Linked DNA regions of Homo sapiens: regions 2 and 3 are each linked to region 1. The links are contacts of gene promoters, found by promoter capture Hi-C in blood cells and fetal thymus (Javierre and others, 2016). All regions are on one chromosome and are shown on one strand. The core of a region is centred on a gene start or on the middle of the fragment in contact, and the rest is flanking DNA. Distances in the headings are between cores, read along the strand shown.

Region 1 (3,133 bases), core at 437-2,936:
AAGCATTGCATTAATTAACATCCCCCTACCAAGCAGGGATCCTAACTAACTGCCTGACACCTTTCACCCCCAGTTGTTCATTAATTGAATTCATAGAACCCAAGAGGTGCTCAGTTGATGTCTGTGAAATGAATAAATACCCTCACCCCTTATCCAGCCCCTCCTGGGCCTTCCTCTTCTTTGAATGCTCAAAGGGATGAGAACCCTGGAATGGAAAAGCCCGTTTGGAGCCCTGAAGTGGAATGCAGGGAGTAAGGAAGGCAGGCTGACCTTGCTTCTTCAGTTCCGACTTCCCTGACTCAAGGAGGCCACTGACAAATTGGGGGCAGGTGCCATTAAGGAGCCACTGCACTGTTTCCCTCGTCCACTTGTCCTGGTTGAGCACTTGAATGGCCAAGTTTACCCAAAGTGGGGCCTCTTGGGTTGGCTCCCAAGAAGTTCCTTGGAAACTCAGGATATCTTTTCCTTGAAATGCTACATGGAAGAAGTTATTTGAGGCGTTCCCAGGGTGCACCTCACAGCCAGCGGACACCTGGAGCTCCAAGGGATCTGTGGAGAGGAATGGAGAAAGATCAAAGAAGGGTTTAAAAGACTGGGAGAGATGAAAGAGAAGAAATTGATGTGCAGGTTATAATGGGGACCCAGACTTCAGGGAAAGGAAAGTAAGTGACCTGGAGTAGGCAGGAACGAGGGACACTTTGAGGAGTCAAAGCCTGGGACATCTCCAGGTAGAAGGGAAATCAGAAGAGGGTGGACAGAGCAGAGAATCTCATCAGGTGGTGCCACAGTCTCCCAGTTGAGTTTCTGTGGCCATTCTCTCCCCTTGGGTACCGGCCCAGGATCCTATCCCTCAGCTCACAGGATAAGCGTAGCATTTTGGCGAATTCCTTCACGTCCCTGGTGAAGCTGCTTCGATAAACCCGAAATATATGCTGCAGCGTCTCCCACTGCTGGTCGCTGAACGTGCCCTGGGACCAAGGCTTCAGAGAGCGGACGGTGTCCGAGTCGTTGCTCCAGCTGTGCGTCTGCAGCTCCCCCAGCCACGCCAAGCCGTCGGTGCGCGTCCAGCTGCTATTGGCGAAGGACGAGATCTGGAGGCAGCGGAGGGGGAAAAGCCTTTGCGGGACTGGGAGAGAATGAAGATTGGAGGCGTGTAGCAAGTGGCCGGGAGAGCAGCCAGCATAAAGAGAAGGAAGAAAGAAACAAGAGGAGATGAGCTTCAGGAGGCGGCTGATGCCAGCGAACTCTGTGCCGCGCTGCCTCTCCCCGGAGCCAGGGAGCAGCGAGTTTTCTACCTAGATCGCGCCAGTGCGTCCCGGGTCTCACCAGTCCCCATCAGGCGTTGCCCTCCCCGTCCCTACCCAGCTCCCTCTCTCCGCCCTCCCGCGAGTGCACTCAAGCGCCCTCGTTCCACCCACCTTCAGCGCTTCCCCAAGCCTGGAGGAGCGCCCAGAGCAGCAGAAACAGCAGGCACCCCATATCGCCCGGCGTGGGGACCTCGCGGAGCGCCGCTGCGCGCCGCCCTCTGACCTGCGCACTCTTCTCCCCCGCCGCTCAGCTCACGTCCCTTTCCGCTGGGTGCCAGCCAATTCCCAAGCCCAGACCCCGGCAGCCCTCCTCGCTGGGCTTGCCGGCGGTTTGCTGCTTCTGCCGAAGGGCGCCCTCGCCCTTAGCTGTGCGAGCTGCAAAGAGGTCGGGGTCCCAGGAATCCTGGCGCCGCCGCTCACTTCAGTAGGTTTCACAACCGGCGTGTCTCAATTTCCTGTTTCAAAGGAGACTTTGGGTCAACGTGTGGGACGCTTTACAACCATTATTTATGTTTTGGAAGCAGGACATAAGGTTGTGTCTGTGTTACAATTCCAACCATGGTAAAAATGCAAAGGGAAAAAAGGATCAAAGTCCTTGCTTTAGCAGTACATGTCTCTAGGTGGAAAGACTATGAGTGATCTTAATTTGCTTTACATCTTTATGTTTTCCAAAATTTCTCAAGTGCAAGTACCACATTTACAATAAAGTAAACGCATGAAAATTAATTTCCTCAGTTGCACATTGAGAGAACTGGATTAGGTTGGCTACAATTCTTTACAACTGTCATATCCCAGGATTCCTCCACCTCAGTGTTCCCTAGCCTCTCTTTCCTCCTGTCATGGTCCTTGCTCTCCCCTCCCCGGCCTCTGCTCTGTCTTCCCTGTCTCCTTTTTGGGGACGCGCCCCCAGACTCTCTTCCTCCTCTCCGCCCTAGGCTCTGCCGGCATACCTTCTCCTCTGGCTCCTGACTCATTCACTTTCCAAATATGCGCCTCTGTCTTAAACAGTAAGTGTAAGATGACAGTGTGTACCTGGACAGCCAACTCGCCACTTCTCACACTGAAAATAAGAAAAAGTGACCAAAAATCGTGGTTCTAAGCCTTAGCTCACCTGGAGGAAAAGACTCCTCTTTGGCAACTCAGAACCTGGGCTGCAGCCTGACACCTCCCTCTCCCTCACTCTTTTTATCCAATCTATCTCCAACTCATCTCTATTTCACTTCTTTTTGAATACCTCTTGAATAAATTCCTTTTTCTATATTTCCACCGTCACCATCACCCTAACCTTTTGACTGATCTCCTGAAGTAGCATTCTTGGGTAGAAAACAAAATCATTAGCACGGCCTGCAAGATTATGCGCCCTCTAGCCCTGGTGTCTACCTTTTGACATCACCTCACACCCCAGCATCATTTGCTCTGTACTGTAGCCTGGCTGTTAGCTTTCAGTTCCTCCACTATGCAAAACCTCTTCCTGACTAAGGTCTCTGCACAAAGTTCCCTCTACATGAAAGCTCTTGACCTTCTCCTCACCTCACCCCCTCCCAATGCCTAGTTATTTCCACTAAGGTATCAGTTCCAAGGTCACTTTCTCAGGGAAGTCTTTCCAGATCTGCCAGACTGTGTGACCCTAGGCAGGAGAAGTAGGGCAGTCCCAACCTCCACTGCTTGTACACTAACTGGCTTTGAGAAGCCATCCTCTCAGCATGTAGCAGAGTTTATAATTATAGAAATGGCCATATGTCTGTCTCCCTCTGTGTCCTCTTCTAAATCAGCTGGAGAGGTGCCAGAAGGCAAGGATCATGTCTCCATAATCTGATTCCTCCCAT
Region 2 (3,133 bases), core at 331-2,830, 240 kb before region 1:
GATTGCCCCTTTCATGGGGTTGAGGAAGGGAGTGATATAAAGTAGAACATGCAAGCAGAAAACATCCTTGCACTCTTCCAGGAGCAAGGAGAAGCAAATGTACTTACTTGCCCTATTTATATATTTAGATTAAAAGTTTTAGAAACTAAATAGTGCCTGTGTTATGATATTTCTCCAAGTATACTTAGTTCAGCCTTTTCATAACATATATAAAGAAACCTAGAAATAAATAAAAAATACATATCATTTTTCAAGGATGTATACAAGATATGTCTCCTGAGTGCTCCTATAATTTCAAATGCATATCCATCATCTCAATCACCACATTTTTAATAATATCTTCTGAATGGGTCTCACCCTTGAAACATGAACTAGAGGCTCGGGACTGGGTCTTATTTAAATGTGTATCTTCATTGCAGACCTAGTAGCTGACACATTGTTATAATCACACTGCTTAATACATGTGTACTATCTGATATTCTTGATTTGGTGGTTCTTAGGTAACATAAAAATGCATTGTCATTAATTTTGTTATTAATATTAGTTAAGGTGATTTTAATAATATACTTTTAATGGGATAATTGTAAGGTTATCTTTATGATTTTTCTCTCACTTATTTGAATTCTAATTTGCTCTACAGAGCAGCAAATGTACTAGGAATTGGGAATCACCTTAGGTACACAGAATTCTGATGACCAGATGCTCTCTTCAGTGCCAGTTTTCTATTGTAAACAGAGATTTCTCTTTCAGATTTAAATGGGCCAGACTTAGTTTTATGTGGTGCAGACATTCTTAGCATTCTTGACACTGAGCAATTCTTGTGCCTAGAAAGAAATAACACTGAGAATTCTCTTACTCTGTGAGTTCTAAGAAGTCTGTGCTGCCCATGAATAAAATAGATAATGTGGCAAGTTAACTCTCTTATTTATATAACAATTATTTATTGAGAAGGTGTTAAGTACTTAATATGGTTCTAGATGCAGAGGAGAACTCAGGCAAAGATACATAAAATTCACATATTTTCCTCAAAGGTACAAAATCTGGTAGAGAAAATAGATATAAGAACAATTCATTAGAATATTTCAAAATTAAGTAAATATCACATAATTTTGGCAATCAATGTCTTATGTGAGTTCTGAGGAAGAAACAACTCCTTTCACCAGAAGGTAGCAAGAAAGCTTTCAAAAAGGTAGATTTTAATGGAGGCTTCAGAAGAACCATAAAATATCTGTAAATAAAAGTGAATAACAAACTAATATGAGCAAGGAATAGAGGCAAGGAAGTCCAGAACATATTTGGGCAATAGTGATACATCCCATTAAGGTCTGAAAATGAGCACAGAAAGATAGTTTATTTCCCCAAAGGAAAGACTTTTGGAAACAATGAAGAGTTTGAACTCTATACTATAGCCATAAGTAAAATTTTTGAAGAGTGAAGCAATATAATACAATTTATATTTTAAAAGATTAGGCTGTCATCACGGGAAAGATGGGTTGCAGAGATGTAAGAGTGGCCATGGGAAAGGAGCCATAATGTGACTTCAGAAGGATTTAAGGGAAGTGATGAAAATGGACAGAATCCTGAAGAAAGATTGTGGTCCTCCCTGCCAGAGGAAAGACTCTGATATAGGTATTAGAGAAAGTGTAGACATATTCCACCTTGAAATTAATGAATAGAAAGAAGAAGATAATTTTTTTCCACTTTGGGACCAGGATAAAGCTACAGAAACAAGAGCCAGCATAATAAAAGTATAACTGACAATTCCTGCCAGGAGGTAAGGAAAACAGTGTTGAAGAGAATTTGAATCTAAGTTATGGAGAGACTAAAACTAAGAGTGGGGGTTTAGGTGTAACGAGAATGACAATTAAGAACCATTGAGTTATAGACAACTATGGTATATTCAGATGGTTTACTTTGCAACTGTAGGAAAGATTTTTTTTTTGAGAGAATACAGATACAAGAAAGCCAAAAAGACAAGCTTTGCAAGATAATCTAAGAGTGAAAGGCTAAGAATCTGAGCAACAGCCTCATGATGGGAATGGAGGTGAAGGGTTGTTTGAATCTGAAAAGTATCAAGAACTTTTTGGCTATGGTGTTAGAACTACTATGGAGACTCAAAGTTTGATGAACGCTTGCCTGATTTTAGCAACATCATGTCTTGGAAAAACAAGAGGGAGGAGAAAAGATGAGTTCAGAATTCAAAATCTGAGAACGCATGCTGATGATCAATTTTCTGTGAATCTACTTATTTTCAGGGATTTCTTTTGGTGCTGACTCCTCTTCTCTCCCTAATTGTCTCCTGATGATGTATGCTCCATGGAGCGGGTCAATGAGACTGTGGTGAGAGAGGTCATCTTCCTCGGCTTCTCATCCCTGGCCAGGCTGCAGCAGCTGCTCTTTGTTATCTTCCTGCTCCTCTACCTGTTCACTCTGGGCACCAATGCAATCATCATTTCCACCATTGTCCTGGACAGGGCCCTTCATATCCCCATGTACTTCTTCCTTGCCATCCTCTCTTGCTCTGAGATTTGCTACACCTTCATCATTGTACCCAAGATGCTGGTTGACCTGCTGTCCCAGAAGAAGACCATTTCTTTCCTGGGCTGTGCCATCCAAATGTTTTCCTTCCTCTTCCTTGGCTGCTCTCACTCCTTTCTGCTGGCAGTCATGGGTTATGATCGTTACATAGCCATCTGTAACCCACTGCGCTACTCAGTGCTAATGGGACATGGGGTGTGTATGGGACTAGTGGCTGCTGCCTGTGCCTGTGGCTTCACTGTTGCACAGATCATCACATCCTTGGTATTTCACCTGCCTTTTTATTCCTCCAATCAACTACATCACTTCTTCTGTGACATTGCTCCTGTCCTCAAGCTGGCATCTCACCATAACCACTTTAGTCAGATTGTCATCTTCATGCTCTGTACATTGGTCCTGGCTATCCCCTTATTGTTGATCTTGGTGTCCTATGTTCACATCCTCTCTGCCATACTTCAGTTTCCTTCCACACTGGGTAGGTGCAAAGCTTTTTCTACCTGTGTATCTCACCTCATTATTGTCACTGTCCACTATGGCTGTGCCTCCTTTATCTACTTAAGGCCTCAGTCCAACTACTCCTCAAGCCAGGATGCTC
Region 3 (3,133 bases), core at 159-2,658, 220 kb before region 1:
ACCAATATAAACCTGAAGTTCAGAGTAATGAGAGGAGTTTTGTCCTGCAGAGATCTGTAGAAATGGCTAATGGATAAGGGATTTCTAGCAATGAAGCAGATGAGCAGACAACTAAAGTGATGTTTGACATTTATTTCATGTCTGACAAACAGATAAAAGTAAGTTATAGTGTTTTAATTCATGTCTTTGCACCCAATTGCCAATTCAACACCAATTCCCAAACCCAAAACCCCTTGATTGTGAGGGTAGATGGGGAATTTTGAGGAAAGACACAACAGCATGGCCACAATTATATCCTGAGAATCTTGTTCCAATATTTCCCTAGAGAACTTTGCCATCTACTAAGGTATCTGTGTACTGGATAAAGAAAAATACCCAGGCCTTCTAGGGATCATAAGATATACTGTCTATTAACCTGTTCAGATCCCAAGAGACCCAAAATGCTGCTATGATCTACTTTTCAGAGTAGGGACTTATGGAGCTAGAGTATTAAATGGAGTCTTGGCTCAAGTTTACCAGGGTTTAAGGCTGTTTGAAACTGAATTTGGCTCCTGTGAAAGTTGATTTTTTTCTTGTTTAATCTTGTTCCTATTATATTCCCTTTTAAATGTCAATTCAAAGTTCAGGAAGTTCACCAGCCCCATCACTCCTCAGTGGTTCATGATCTATATATTTGCTCTTTACCTCGGTGTGTCTCAACTTCTTGACTTTTTGGTAATATCTTCCGGAATTGTCAGATTCTCCTTGGGAGCTAATTACTCCCAAATACCAGGACAACATCACAGGTTAGTTGCTTTTCCTGAATACTAATTCTTTGTTAAAGTCTGATGCCTTCGATCTGATTTTTTTCCAATATTTTTGTAGTTTTTCTAGTGATTACTAGTCTGTGGGCTGACTAAAAATTTCTAGCTCACTATTCCCCAAAGAGAAACTCTAATTAGTATACTTTAACTAAAGTAAATATCTTAAAACATAATATATACACTAAATGGGACGTAAATCATAAGGGTTTAGCTTGATGAAAGTGTTACAAATTGAACATATCTAATAAATAAATTAAATATTATGAGAACACTGTAGGGTTCCATTGTACTGCCTCTCAGGTATTGCATTTATAAATATAACTTCTATCCTGACTTCCACCACCATCATTGTGACCTTTCCTTGATCATTATATAAATTGAATCATACTGTGCTTGGCCTGTATCTCTACATATCATGTCTATGAGAATCTTATTTTCTTTTTGTTTTTCTTCAGTAGACTTTATTTTTAGAGCATATTTAGGTTCACAGAAAAAATACACAGAAAATATCAAATTCCGTTGTGGCCTCCCTCTCCTGCACAGTTTTTCTTATTATTAACATTCTGAATTATTGCTGTACATTTTTTATTTATTAAACCAATGTTGACACATTATTATTAACCTAAGTCCATATATTTTACATTTGGGTTCATGCTACATATTTTCAGAACTGCAAAATGTCATAGTCACAATTAGAGTATTATACAGAATAGTTTCACTGTCCTAAAAATGCCTTGGGCCCCATTTATTTTTCCCTCCCCTCCTTCTCTGAATCCTTGGAAAACACCAGTGGTCATTTTATTATTTCAATAGTGTTGCTTTTTCCAGAATGTCATGTAGTTGGGACCACATAGTATATAGGCTTTTCAGACAGCTCTTTTCCACTTAGCAATACACATTTAAGGTTCCTCAATGACTTTTCATGGCTTGATAGCCCATTTATTTTTCTATTTATCTGTTCTTTCACCAATACCACACTGTCTTGATTACTGTAGCTTTGCAGTAAGTCTTGAGGTCAGATAGTGTCAGTTCTTCAACTTTGTTCCTCTCCTTCAATATGTTTTAAAATGTTGACTTTATTTTTATTCAGATAGGGTAAGACCAGCAGATAGAGAGATGACTGCCATTGAAAGATAGTTGATTACTTAGAGTTCCTGAGTGCCTGAGTGGGAAGGTGGCATATCACGCCACACATGAAGTGCCATGGGGAGAACACCAGAGCACAAAGTTCAGTTGTAGGCAGAAAGCAAAGGGAAGTTTTGGAGAGTCTTCAGAGTGGTTTTGAGGCAAAGCAGGGTAAGTGGTTTTGAGCAGGTTTAGAATTGGATAGTTTAAACAGTTTCACTGGGTTCCAGGACTATCCTTAGTTGTCTGACACCTGGCCCCAGGGGGATTAGGAAAAGGAAGTAGTGTCCCTCAGTCCAAGAGCATGCAAAAATAGGCAATTGTGGGTATGACTTCTGGATGTGTTTGACTGCACATGAAATTAAATTCATTTTCTATCTCTATGAATCTGCTAACCCTAGGAGGGCTGCTTTTTTCCTGGTCAGGAAGGTCCAGATGTCAAAGCATCAAATATGGGAACTAGAAAATCTCTTTAATATCTAATTTTTGACTCCCCCATTTGTTAGATTCTGGTCTTTAATTTCTGTCAGCCTCATCCTGTGATTCTCTCAAATCAACAGCTTGAGTTTGTAATTTCATACAGGTAAATAAATGTCCTCAGAATAGAAGCAATTTCCAGTGTTCCTCTGTGGATTTTATTTTCTTCAGATTTTGGCCTAAAAATTCCTACTATACCTTCAACTTGTCAATAGGTTTCTAAAATTTTTTAAAATTTTTCCCAGCAATTTTGTTTTCAGAAAGTTTTCTCATGTGACCAGCCAAGCCACTACAAGAAATAGTTCTCAGTCTTCCTCCTCACTCCTTTTTCCTTTGAGTGTCCTAGGCACAAAACATTCAGTATTGACTTTTTATTCCTAATTCTTATATTTCTACTTGGCTTATTATTCCAGAATGTTTTTATTCATGAAGTCATTTGCTGAATCTCGGCCCTGGCTGTGGTCAAGGCAATCCCTGCTGGGGGTGCTCATCCTTGTAGCTGCCCTGTTGTTAATGTCACAATAACACTGAACATCATTTTACCTCTTATTACACATAGCTCTGCTTACATCTGTCTTCTCTACTAGAGCAGATCAATTCATACATTTTATCTTTGTATCACTATAATGTCTCATATCCTGCTCTCTAAATCATGGTACTCAATGAATGGTTCCTCGATGAAAGTCATTTCCTTACAATAATTCCTAGGACAGAATTAAGAAATCCAG

The links. Contacts are between HindIII fragments. The CHiCAGO score rates a contact against its expected background, and 5 or more counts as called.
Region 2: a contact is called between a fragment that was not itself captured here and the fragment with the promoter of CD1D in region 1, in 1 of 17 cell types (fetal thymus). The highest score is 5.4, in fetal thymus.
Region 3: a contact is called between a fragment that was not itself captured here and the fragment with the promoter of CD1D in region 1, in 1 of 17 cell types (fetal thymus). The highest score is 6.1, in fetal thymus.

What each region holds. Positions count from the first base shown.
Region 1 is chr1:158,179,448-158,182,580 of GRCh38, reverse strand. CD1D (CD1d molecule) reads right to left here and starts at 1,686. Exons shown (of 6, transcript NM_001371762.2): 1 at 1,419-1,686; 2 at 860-1,126; 3 at 271-549. The coding sequence starts at 1,479. RefSeq lists an enhancer at 1,156-1,215 and a silencer at 2,628-2,677. The HindIII fragment of the contact is 7,344 bases long and covers 1-3,133 here.
Region 2 is chr1:158,420,050-158,423,182 of GRCh38, reverse strand. OR10K2 (olfactory receptor family 10 subfamily K member 2) reads left to right here. Exons shown (of 2, transcript NM_001004476.2): 2 at 2,256-3,133. The coding sequence starts at 2,317. Among named protein-coding and RNA genes, the nearest start is that of OR10K2, 4.6 kb to the left of the region's middle. The HindIII fragment of the contact is 800 bases long and covers 1,181-1,980 here.
Region 3 is chr1:158,403,356-158,406,488 of GRCh38, reverse strand. No RefSeq gene overlaps it. Among named protein-coding and RNA genes, the nearest start is that of OR10T2, 5.5 kb to the right of the region's middle. The HindIII fragment of the contact is 5,103 bases long and covers 1-3,133 here.